Regions from separate parts of the Homo sapiens genome. Here regions 1 and 3 are each linked to region 2. Evidence: promoter capture Hi-C in human tissues and cell types (Jung and others, 2019). All regions are on one chromosome and are shown on one strand. The core of a region is centred on a gene start or on the middle of the fragment in contact, and the rest is flanking DNA. Distances in the headings are between cores, read along the strand shown.

Region 1 (3,672 bases), core at 638-3,137, 560 kb after region 2:
CTGGCGGTCACTATGAACAGGGAACTGGAGGTCACGCCCAGCAGGGCTAACGGAGAGCCCACGGCCAACGTGAGGATGCTCAGGGCTGAGCAGGAGGATGAGGCCGGCACTGGGGGCTGAGGCAGTGCAGACCTTGAGCTGGGACTCAAAGTCCACGGGGTGGACCTTCTCCCTGAGGCGGTGGGACAGCCGGGCTCAGCCCTGCCGGCAACACGGAGGAGAGCATGTGGGGCCACTGGCTGAGGGGCCTGCAAGGTGACTGCCGCACCTGCTGTTTGCAGCTGGTACTTTAGCGGGGTCAGTCGGACCCAGGCACAGCAGCTGCTCCTCTCCCCACCCAACGAACCAGGGGCCTTCCTCATCCGGCCCAGCGAGAGCAGCCTCGGGGGCTACTCACTGTCAGGTACCTGGGGCGGCCCCTCCTGCCTCTGTCCCCCACCAGGTCAGTGGCCCTTGACCTTGGGGTGGTTGGTCTCTAGGCAGTGCTGGCTCCTGATTCACACCCGGCGCCACTGAGGGCCCAACAGCAGATATGCTGGTCACCTCCTGCACTTGCTAACTCACCCATTTATTCATTCATTCAGTCATTCACCCACTCATTCATTCAGTCACTCATTCACTTGTTCATTCATTCCTCACTAATTCACTCATTCATTCATTCATCCATTCATCTCATTCACTCGTTCATTCCTCACTCACTAATTCACTCATTCATTCATCCATTCATCCACTCATTCACTCGTTCATTCGTCACTCACTAATTCACTCATTTATTCACTGATTTGTTCACTAGCTTATTCTTTCACTCATTTGCTTATTCGTTCATTCATTCATTCACTTTTCCTTCTTTCCTTCCTTATTCCTTCATTCATTCACTGACTCATGGACTCATTCATTCTACAAGTATTTATTAAGTGCCTACTCTGTGCACACCGTCAGCAGAAAAGCTCCAACCTGGGCCGCTCTCGCTGCCCCGCCCCAGCCTGTGGCTGCCCACACTCCCTCCTCCACACAGCTCTGACCATCTCAGGGTCCCCAGCTAGGTCTGAGCCAGACCCCTTAGTGGGTTGTGGCCAGCATCCTCTGGGGTGGGAGGGTCGGGGCAGCTGGCAGCCAAGGCAGGGGTCTCCATCTCTGAACCCTTCCTAGTCCGGGCCCAGGCCAAGGTCTGCCACTACCGGGTCTCCATGGCAGCTGATGGCAGCCTCTACCTGCAGAAGGGACGGCTCTTTCCCGGCCTGGAGGAGCTGCTCACCTACTACAAGGCCAACTGGAAGCTGATCCAGAACCCCCTGCTGCAGCCCTGCATGCCCCAGGTGGGCCTGTGCCTGCCAAGCTGCCCCATGCTGGGCCCGAGGCATGGCCCTGTTCTAGGTGCTCCTCCCCACCCCGTCACAAAACCCCTGGGGCTGTCAGAGGCGCAGCTCCAGGGCCCTGCCCAGGCCTGGGAGCATCGGAGCATCCCAGCGGTTCCAGCACATTCTGCTCTCTGCGGGTGCCTCTGAGGGTTGTTGGGATTCCTGGGGTCCTAGGGGGCTGGGAGTGGGGAAAGGAGACCTGTAGCAGTGCCCAGCTCTGCAGGGGAGCAGCCAGGAGGGTGGGGCCAGTTTGGGGAAGGCACTCAAGGCTGCCCCAGGCCCCAAGGGCGGAAGGTGTGGGAGGAGAGGCAGATCACAAGATGCTGCACCTGGGCTGGAGACACTGGATCCCGGGGACTGTCCCCGATGTGAGCCACCCTGCCGAGGGCCAGGGCAGCAGTCTGGTTTCTCTGGTCTCATAATGACAGCGCGGCCAGGGGCAGTAATGAGCATGTGTAGACGGATATCCGGCTGGGGCAAAGGTGCCACTTAGGCCCCCAGAGCAATGAGCTCCCACGGGGCTGGGCCGGGCCTCCAAGCCTGGCACCCACTCCCCTTTGTCCCAGCCAGGGTGGGGTGAGTGTGTGCTGGGGACAGGGGTGCCCGCCAGAGGCCTGGTGTGGGGGGCTGTGCCTGGGACAGAGCACAGGGGCCCACGCTGACCAGCCTCCCTGCCCACCCTCCCTGCAGAAGGCCCCGAGGCAGGACGTGTGGGAGCGGCCACACTCCGAATTCGCCCTTGGGAGGAAGCTGGGTGAAGGCTACTTTGGGGAGGTGTGGGAAGGCCTGTGGCTGGGCTCCCTGCCCGTGGCGATCAAGGTCATCAAGTCAGGTGAGGCCCCGAGATCCTGCGCCACGGCCGGGCCCCGCACCTGCTGTCCAACCCTCAAGCCCCAGGGCAGTGATGTTCGTGGCGTGGGCCGGTCCTGGAGCCACACCCTCTCTCGCAGCCAACATGAAGCTCACTGACCTCGCCAAGGAGATCCAGACACTGAAGGGCCTGCGGCACGAGCGGCTCATCCGGCTGCACGCAGTGTGCTCGGGCGGGGAGCCTGTGTACATCGTCACGGAACTCATGCGCAAGGGGAACCTGCAGGCCTTCCTGGGCAGTGAGTCCCCTCCCTGCTGCCACGTGGCCCTGACGCGCCTGCGACCGCCCCTTCCCTCCTGGCGCAGAGCTGAACCTGCGGGGTTTCCGAGGTGAACCGGGCCTCTCTACCGGGAGCAGGTGGCCCCGGCTGCAGATCCCATCCCTGTCTGGTCTCCAGCCAACAGGGGGCTGGCGTCAGGTCTGGGCCAGGCCAGAGCCTTGTGGCTCCGGGGCTGGAGCTGGTGTTCGGGGGCGGTGGGGGGCGCGGTCCCATCTGGGTCACCAGCCTTGGTCTAATGTGACATAGACCCAGCCCAGCCTCTGGCTCTTCTCTGCCCTGGTCTTTGTCGGGGGCCTGGGCCGGCTGCCGGGTCACTGTGGTGAGTACAGGACCCTCGCCCTGTCTCACTTGGGGCTTCCCGTGGCCTTAGCCGGCCATGCCATCCTCGCCACGTCTTAGAGATGAGGAGGCTGAGGCATGGGGGAAGGTGACGTGGGTGGACGCTGGCCTCACCGGCCGTTGGCCCCGTGCCCTAAAAGACCCCGCGCTGTCTCCTGCAGCCCCCGAGGGCCGGGCCCTGCGTCTGCCGCCACTCCTGGGCTTTGCCTGCCAGGTGGCTGAGGGCATGAGCTACCTGGAGGAGCAGCGCGTTGTGCACCGGGACTTGGCCGCCCGGAACGTGCTCGTGGACGACGGCCTGGCCTGCAAGGTGGCTGACTTCGGCCTGGCCCGGCTGCTCAAGGTCAGCGGAGGCTCTGGGCCCCTGACCCAGAGGGGGTGGGTGAGGGGACCCCGGTCCACCTGCCCTACCAGGGGCCTTCCCTCGCCCCCAGGACGACATCTACTCCCCGAGCAGCAGCTCCAAGATCCCGGTCAAGTGGACAGCGCCTGAGGCGGCCAATTATCGTGTCTTCTCCCAGAAGTCAGACGTCTGGTCCTTCGGCGTCCTGCTGCACGAGGTTTTCACCTATGGCCAGTGTCCCTATGAAGGTGGGTCCCCAGGCAGCCAGAGGGAGGATGCAGGCTCTGCCCAGGAGTCACTGGCCCCGGGCCTGGACGCTGTCGGCAAGGGGTTGGAGGGTCTGGCCAAGGGCAGGCAGATGACATGGGGGGCTACAGGAGGCCTCCTCCATAGGGACCCCCAGGCAGAATCGAGGCAGCTCTTGCCCCGCGCCTCCCAGGGATGACCAACCACGAGACGCTGCAGCAGATCATGCGAGGGT
Region 2 (3,883 bases), core at 1,365-3,864:
GGGGGAGCACCCCCGGCTCAGGCCCTGGTGTTGCAGCGGGCATCGGTGAGGTGCTTCTGGGAGGAGGAAAAGGCCCCTGGGGCTGCTGCTTTTGTGGCCAGGAGGACCTGACACCTCCAGCCGGCCTCCCCGGGGTCCTGAGCTCAGCACCTGGCAGTCTCCCCCATCCCCACTGCCCTCAGGGTCCCCATCCCTTCCATCATGCGCACCCCACCTCCAATGTGACCGGCGGGCGGTGGTGCCAGACCAGCCTTCAGGACAGGCTCAGGAGAGCAGAGCTAGAGTCTGGGAGGGGCTCCGATTCCCAGACTCACCAGATACCGGTGGAGGGAAGAGGACCCAGACTCGTGGTTGGCTTCAGAGGAAGCCAGACACACAGTGGGATCTTTGCATGGGAAGATTCTGTGCTCTGAGGGATGCCTCTGACACTGGGCTCCCCACTACTGAGGCTTAAGGGAAGACCCTCCTGGAACACCCTGCTCTGAAGAAGGTGTGGGTGGCAGTCGGTATCCTGCAGGGCAAAGACCAGCAGGGGTGCCCAGAGCTCAGGCCACACGGGGGTCACTGGGCAGGCTGCCAGCCAGCCCTGGGGGGCAGAGGAAGGCACCGGCACTAGCCTGGGCCCCTCCCAAAATGCATGGAAGGGAGAGGCCCCCAGCAATGCCCCCAGGGAGGCCCAGAGTCAGGCAGTGTGGCCAGCCCCACCCCAGGACAGCAGCTCGGTGACAGCAGGCCCCCAGGGAGGCCCAGAATCAGGCCAGCGTGGCCAGCCCCACCCCAGGACAGCAGCTCGGTGACAGCAGGCCTGGGACATTCTCCCAGTGCCCGGTGCTGAGGCCATGGTCGGCCGCTCCCCAGCCAAGACCAGTGACCGCCTGGCCCAGCCCACACCCTGGTCAATGCCTGGGCCACCACATGCCAGGCCTGGCCTCTCTGTGTCACGCCTCTGGTTTCCAGGAGCTGTGAACTGACCCCTCCCGACCCCACGAACACCCCAAATCACAAAATTCAGCCCCAATGCACCCTCTCCTCACGGCTGCTAATCACCATCCCCTGACCTTGTGGGCGTCAAGCTCCACTTATGTGACAAACTGTGGCTACAAGCCCCACGCTCCCTCGAGACACACCCACAGATCCCCCCCACCGCCATCCCCAAACTGGCTGAAGAGGAGTGTGAGATATCTCAGCAGGGTTCCCTGACCCCGGACTCAACATCCACATGGCACAGCCCATAGAAGGGTAGCTCGGGGCCCACCCACAGTGTACCCTCAGGCTGGCGACATCAGGGTACTCAGGGCGACTGCCCAGGCTCCTGTCCTAACCAATAGACTTGACAGAGCAACTCTCAGGAAAGAAGGCCGACCATGAGTGTGCGGTGACATCCTTGCAACCCCACAGGCAGCGGGCACAGTCTCGATGGGCAGACACATCTCCCCAGACTGAAAACACACAGTGACCAGGCACGGTGGGTCATGGCTATAACCTGAGCACTTTGGGAGGCTGAGGTAGAGGCTGAAGCTCAGGAGATCGAGACCAGCCTGGGCAACATGGTGAAACCCCGTCTCTACAAAAAAAAACACAAAAATTAGCCAGGCATGGTGGCACATGCCTGTAGTCCCAGCTACTTGAGAGGCTGAGGTGGGAGGATCACCTGAGCCCAGGGAGGTCAGGGCTGCAGTGAGCCATGATAGTGCCACTGCACCCCAGCCTGGGTGACAGGGCAAGACCCTGTCTCAAAAAAGAAGAAAGGAAAGAAAACACAGACCCTCTGACCCAACACGTCTCCGCTGAGGAGCGGCTCTGAGACTGGCGACTGCTCGTGTCAGCTGTGGCGTTGCCTGCAAAGCAGGTCCAGATGCGGCCGAGCTGCACACACACGGGTTGGATAAGCCAGGGTGCGTCCAGCAAGGAAGAAAAGCAGGGAGAAGGGAAGGACTTAAAGACCAACCCAGAGCAGAGTGTGATGCTCACCACCTCTGCAGGACGGCGGGAGAGTTACGTGTCAGCGTGAGAACGTCTTCTCTGCAGCCTTTCACAGCTTGCCTAGGCTGAGTTCCTCTTTTAGCAAAAGACAAAAAAAGAAGGTGGGTTGCCTATGGCCAACAAGTTCTGCTTCCACATGAGGGCATACAGACCCCCCAGATGCCCACACTCAGCCAAGGACATGTAGACCCACTCAGATACAACGCAGAGCTCACCCACAGAGACCCCCATACAGGCAGACACAGGCCCACACACGTACATGTCCTAACTGGCACACACACACAGGAACACACCATGTACACACACAGGGTGGGGCAGGAGACCCACCAAGACACCCATGTTCACAGATAAGGGTGCCCAGGCCCACAGTGACTCCCGGACAGAGGCACAGATGCCTTCAGTGCCCTCTGCCCGAAGACCTGGGCACACCCAGAGGCCCCTGCATGGAGTCCCTTCCTGACACACAGGCGCACACGTGCCTCAGCCGCCCACTGAGGAGTCTGCCTGGGTAAGTGAATGCTGAGGAGACCCTGGGACAGCCGACTGCAGGCGCTACTGCAGCTCAGGGGAAGGTGGGGCCTGCCTTCCGGGCTCCACGTCAGCAAGGGGGATCCGCCTCCCTCCCTCACCAGCATCAGCACTGACACCAGGCTGGGAACCTCGCAGCCGGGGCTGAGGCAGCCAGCAGGGCAGGTCTTGAAACTCCTGAAACCTCAGCTGGAGGTCTGTCAGTGAGGACCACACCTCGCCCTCCATCCCTGCGACTGCCTGTACTGGCCAAAACCAGGAACACACCAAGGCTACCAACTTCTGGACTCGAAGCACTGGACAGGTCAGTGGAGAGAAGAGTAGCTGGACCAGCAGGGTCTGCAGCATCTCTCGGGAGGGTGTGAGGGAGGGTGCAGACTCCAAGACCCCTGAGGGAAGGACCTTCAGATTCAAGGGAGCCAGAGATGAGCTTGGGAGGTGTGTTTCCAAAGGGACCGCTTGATTCTACGCAGCCCGTGCATCTGCGGGTTGCTGGGGCAGGGACGGATCCACATCTCTTCCCAGGAGGGTGGCCAGCAGCTGCTCTCTGCGGGAGGAGGGAACTGATCTGCTGAAGTCTCACCAGGAAGAGGCGGGAGGAGGCCCCCACACACCCCACCAGGCTCCCTCTGGCCCCATGTCCTTGACCTGGCAAAGTGGCCGCAGTCTCTGCCAGAGAACCTGGAGTGGCTGTGCCCTAACAGACGGCCGGATCTCAAAGTCTCTGGTTGTTTTTCTTTCCTAGAATCCAGCCCAAGGAGGCCCCCAACCAGATACCCAACTCCAAGGCACCTCCCACCTGCCCAGGGCGCAAATCGTCAACGGTCCCAGCTACAATGCAGGCCGCTGGGCACCCAGAGCCCCTTGACAGCAGGGGCTCCTTCTCCCTCCCCACGATGGGTGCCAACGTCTCTCAGGACAATGGCACTGGCCACAATGCCACCTTCTCCGAGCCACTGCCGTTCCTCTATGTGCTCCTGCCCGCCGTGTACTCCGGGATCTGTGCTGTGGGGCTGACTGGCAACACGGCCGTCATCCTTGTAATCCTAAGGGCGCCCAAGATGAAGACGGTGACCAACGTGTTCATCCTGAACCTGGCCGTCGCCGACGGGCTCTTCACGCTGGTACTGCCCGTCAACATCGCGGAGCACCTGCTGCAGTACTGGCCCTTCGGGGAGCTGCTCTGCAAGCTGGTGCTGGCCGTCGACCACTACAACATCTTCTCCAGCATCTACTTCCTAGCCGTGATGAGCGTGGACCGATACCTGGTGGTGCTGGCCACCGTGAGGTCCCGCCACATGCCCTGGCGCACCTACCGGGGGGCGAAGGTCGCCAGCCTGTGTGTCTGGCTGGGCGTCACGGTCCTGGTTCT
Region 3 (4,186 bases), core at 1,608-4,107, 610 kb after region 2:
AGGTTGTTGGTGAGGACGGCACTGTGACCAGGGACTCAGATGCAAGAAGAGGGGCCCAAGTCCTGACCTGGGGGAGGGCAGGGAAAGCACAGGCCACAGGCCCCCTTACTTGCTGCGTGTCCTTGGACAGGAATCTTGGCCTTTCTGTGCCCAGTTGCCTCACAGGTTCTCAAGGTCCTCCAGCCAGCCTTGTGGGGCCTACCTTGTAGCCTCTGTCCCCGCAGCCCCCATCCCCGCACACTGTGCACGTGCACGGCCCCCTGTCCCCCGTCCCCCACACTGTGAACTCACACAGCTGGGCGACTTGGCTGTGACTAATTAGGATGCTTGGTACTTGAAGTCATTTGGTGCTACCCGGCCATTGACAAGTGTTTTGCCTGCTTGTTGTGCTATGACAGAATACCTGAGACTGGGTAATTATACATTACTTAAATTTAAACATTTATAAAGTTTGCTTTATAAATTTATAAATTATTATAAGTAAACAGAAGTTTATTTCTCAGTCTGGAGGCCAGGAAGTCCAGGATCAAGGTGCTGCCATCTGGTAGGGCCTTCTTGCTGTGTCCTCACATGGGAGAAGGCGGAAGAGCAAGAGAGAACCCACTGCCATGAGTCCTGTTTATAGGGCACAAATCCATTCGGAAGGGCAAACCCTTTATGACCCAGACTCCTTCCCGAAAGCGCCAGCCCCCAACACTGTTGCATTGGGGATTAAGTTACAACTCGTGCACTTTGGGGACGTGGTCAGGCCACTGCCGTTATTCAGCAGTTAGCATTCCGTAGTTAGTAGCCATTCAGTCCTGTTCAGTCTCCGCGGTGGCTCGGAACCATCAGTGTGTTAGTGTTTAGCCTTGTGACCGCAGCCCCGTTAGCTGTGTGTTCCAAGTGTCTGCGGAACTGAGTCGGTGGCTCCCAGGACCCCGAGGGGCCACACCGTGGACCAAACGTGTCCTGGCGCCTGGGAGACCCTTTGGAGCAGCCACCGACACCCTTGCCCAGAGTCAGCACACAGGTGCTTTGGGGAGGTTGCCACATTCCACTCTCAGGGGCCACTCCTGTGGGTGGCAAGGCCCCACGGCACATGTGAGCCCCTGGCACTGCTATGGGTGAGCCGGGAGCCGAGGGGGAAGGGGTGTCTGGAAAAGGTAGCCCAGAGTCCTGGTGATCCCTTGGGGGAGTGGGGTGGGCATCCCCGGGACCCCGGCCTGGGCCACTCGAGCACCTGCAGCAAGCCCACTTCCAAATCCCTGCCTAACCTTCAGGCTGCAGGGGAGGCGTTAAATATAGAGACCAGCTGGGTGGGGTGGGGCGGGCCTTGCTTTCTTGCCAGGCGGTTATTTTTATTCCTGGCTCCTGTTTGACGGCATCGGCAGCACTCGGAAGTGCCGGGGCACCTAGCAGGCCCTCCCTGCCTCCTCTCCTGCCTGTGGCCCAGGAGCCCAAGTCCCTGGACTCCTATGGGGCAGACGCAGCCACAGACCAGGGTCCTCCTGAGAGGCCCTCTCCACAGGCTGGGGAGAACTGTTTGGCCCCGACCCTGGGCCCCCACCTTTCCTTCCTCCTCACACCTGCCAGCAGGCCAGGTAGGGGTCCAGTCGCTGGGGATCCCCATGGATTTGCCCAGTCGCAGCTGCTGGGCCCGACCCGGGGCCTCCATGTCAACACCCAGTGGGAACTCAGGGCTGAGAGGACAGGTGCCAGGGCTCTGCCCCCACTCAGCACACACCTCCCGAGACCCCGCTGGCAGGAAGATCCGAGTGCGTGGGGGTGGGGGGGCAGCGTGGGAGGGAAGACCTGAATACCTGGGTGAGACGACAGGATCTTGGGGTCTGGAGAAAGCCCCTAACCTTGGTCTTCACACAACACATGGCTGCCACATCCCCTTCCTCACAACCCACGTTGGTCATTACCCGCGTGTGCCAGGACCTCAGGGACTCCCCACTTCCTACAGAGCGTGGCCCGGTCTTTGGCTTGGCATCCTGACCCCATATGAGCATCAGCTACAAGGCGCTGAGGTGCAGCGGGGTGGGGCGCTGGGCGGGGGGGCCTGGGTCTGTCTGGATCTGACTCGCCCTTGGCTGGCGCTGTTTCCCAGCAGCAGCCGGAGGTCGGCGCACCCGGAGGGGAGGGTCCCTGGAAGATGTCAGTGGGTCTGGGAGCGGGCTTCCGGCGTTCCCTGCACCGTGGGAGACCAGCCTCTCAGGGGGAGGGTGGTTCTGCGCTGGATCCTCGGGGCCTGTCATGGTGCGCCCAGGAGGGCAGGCACGTGAGGACAGGGACTGGAAACCAGCAGATTTCCACCCTGAGGCCTGCACCCCCGGGCCTCATTAGGGAGAGCCCCTCAGAGCCGGGCTTCGTTGGTTCTGGGGCGTCCCCCATGAGCAGGGCCGGGGAGGGGCCGGTAGACCCAGGCTCGTCTCCCAGGCTGCAGCCCACCTGCTCCCCTCCCCCGCCTGCCGGCTCCGGTCCTCGGCGTCTGCCCTGTCCCCGGGGACCGCTTTTCGCGGCTCAAGCGTGTTCCTGCCCTGAGCCGGCTCTCGCCCCGTCTCCCGGGCCCGCCGCGCTCTCCCCGCGCCGTCTCCGTCCCGGTCCCTCCCTCCCGCCGCCTCCCTGCCCTGCCCCCCGCCCCGCCCCCGCCCGCGGCGCGTTTCTCCCCCGCCTCCCGCGTCCGTCTTTGCAGCCCGCGCCTCCCGCATCGCCTCGCGTCCCCGTGGCGCCCGCCCGCGCGCGTCCGCGCCCCGCCCCCTCCCGCGCGGTTCCGCATTGGCGTGCTGCAGGGCGCGGTGCACTGCGCCGCCACCGTCAATAGGTGGACCCCCTCCCGGAGATAAAACCGCCGGCGCCGGCGCCGCCAGTCCCTCTGGCTGAGACCTCGGCTCCGGGTAAGGACGCTCGGCCCCCGGGCCTCCGCCCCCGCCCCCGTCTTCCGAAGAGGGACCCCCGGGGCCGGTCCTGGGGGGCAGAGGGTGGCCGGGCCCCGCACCCGCCCCCGCGCGCGCCCGGAGTCCGGCTTCCGGGGGTCCCCGCGTCGGCCGGGCTGGGCCCGGGGTGGGGGGCGGCGCGGGGCGGCGGGGCCGGGTCCTGGGCGGCGATCGCCCCGTAGCCGTGACCTTGGGGCCGCGGGGACCCTGCGGGCCGGGGGCTGATGGGGGTCGGGCTTCGGGGCGCTGGGCCAGAGGACGCTGAGGGAGGTGGTGAGATCTGGGGGCCCTGGCCTCCCCACCCCCACCCGTGTTCCCACCCCAGGGTGGCTTCTGTCCTCTTTCCCTCCCCCAGCCACCTGTCCGCGAGGAGCAGCGTGGGTTTCTCCACTGACCTCTGTGATGGGACAGGGCTGTGACCCAGGGTCCTGAGTCACAGGGAGGGGGGGAGGGAGGGTGCCCCCTATACCCCCACGGGGCCGAGGGCATCTCCACCTGGCACTTGCTGGGCTCGGCAGGGCCGGGTCCTCCTTCCTCAGGCTGGAACAGGGACCCCCACCTCCCGGCCGCTGTCTGTCCCTGTGAGAGTCCGGGAGGGGGGTGCCTAGAGCTATTCTGGGTTCCTAATCTGGGCAGCGCATCTCCGTCGGGGCTCTGGCCCAGCCTGCCGGGCAGGGATGAGGGGAAGATGGCGCCGTCCCTGCCTGAGGAGGGGAGTGGGGAGCAGTGGCCATCTCTCCCCGGTGGCAGCGGGTGGGGGTGGGGCGCCGTGTCCCTGGCCCTGCCGCCGGGGAGGGGAGTGCGCGTGCAGGACAGGGCCCTGGAGCGCTGGGCAGGTGACTCATCACCCGGCTCTGCTGGTCACGGACGTACCCAGCCTGGCGCTGCGTGGTCTCTCCAAATGGTGGCTAACCCCTTCCCAAGGAGCAGCCCGCGGGCTCCAACGCCCAGTTATTTACAGCAGATGGGGCTGTTTGGGCTCAAGTGTGGGGTGGGGGCAGTGCACAGCCTCTGCTTGCCCTGGCCAGGCCCAGCTGTGGGTGGGGGCCCTTCCCTCCCCACCAAACATGGGGGCTTGGTTTGTGGGCAGGGATGCCTGTCCAGCCTGTGCCAGGACAGTCTCTGCTGGTGTCTCCCCCTGGGGCTCCCCATCACCGGTCTCCCCACCACCACTGGCCCCACAGAATCACTGCAGCCCCCCTCGCCCTGAGCCAGAGCACCCCGGGTCCCGCCAGCCCCTCACACTCCCAGCAAAATGGGCAAGG

Evidence for each region. The method cuts DNA at HindIII sites, captures the fragments that hold promoters and counts their contacts. A contact is called where the count stands out against the background at its distance.
Region 1: a fragment that was not itself captured here is called in contact with the fragment with the promoter of NPBWR2 in region 2 in 1 of the 25 tissues and cell types used here (lymphoblastoid cells).
Region 3: the fragment with the promoter of EEF1A2 here is called in contact with the fragment with the promoter of NPBWR2 in region 2 in 4 of the 25 tissues and cell types used here (IMR-90 fibroblasts, aorta, lymphoblastoid cells and 1 more).

The regions. Positions count from the first base shown.
Region 1 is chr20:63,540,958-63,544,629 of GRCh38, reverse strand. It overlaps SRMS (src-related kinase lacking C-terminal regulatory tyrosine and N-terminal myristylation sites), which reads left to right. Exons shown (of 8, transcript NM_080823.4): 2 at 282-403; 3 at 1,150-1,316; 4 at 2,049-2,190; 5 at 2,309-2,467; 6 at 3,010-3,191; 7 at 3,283-3,439; 8 at 3,631-3,672. Among named protein-coding and RNA genes, the nearest start is that of SRMS, 5.0 kb to the left of the region's middle. RefSeq lists enhancers at 1-534, 1,482-1,631 and a silencer at 1,922-1,981. The HindIII fragment of the contact is 9,150 bases long and covers 1-3,672 here.
Region 2 is chr20:64,106,296-64,110,178 of GRCh38, reverse strand. NPBWR2 (neuropeptides B and W receptor 2) reads left to right here and starts at 2,614. Exons shown (of 2, transcript NM_005286.4): 1 at 2,614-2,815; 2 at 3,257-3,883. The coding sequence starts at 3,348. RefSeq lists a silencer at 399-582 and an enhancer at 2,566-3,066. The HindIII fragment of the contact is 24,186 bases long and covers 1-3,883 here.
Region 3 is chr20:63,497,754-63,501,939 of GRCh38, reverse strand. EEF1A2 (eukaryotic translation elongation factor 1 alpha 2) reads left to right here and starts at 2,857. Exons shown (of 8, transcript NM_001958.5): 1 at 2,857-2,882; 2 at 4,106-4,186. The coding sequence starts at 4,177. It overlaps LOC124904955 (a long non-coding RNA gene), which reads right to left and starts at 3,658. Exons shown (of 2, transcript XR_007067719.1): 1 at 3,317-3,658; 2 at 472-615. RefSeq lists enhancers at 1-126, 2,223-2,792, 3,053-3,848. The HindIII fragment of the contact is 29,943 bases long and covers 1-4,186 here.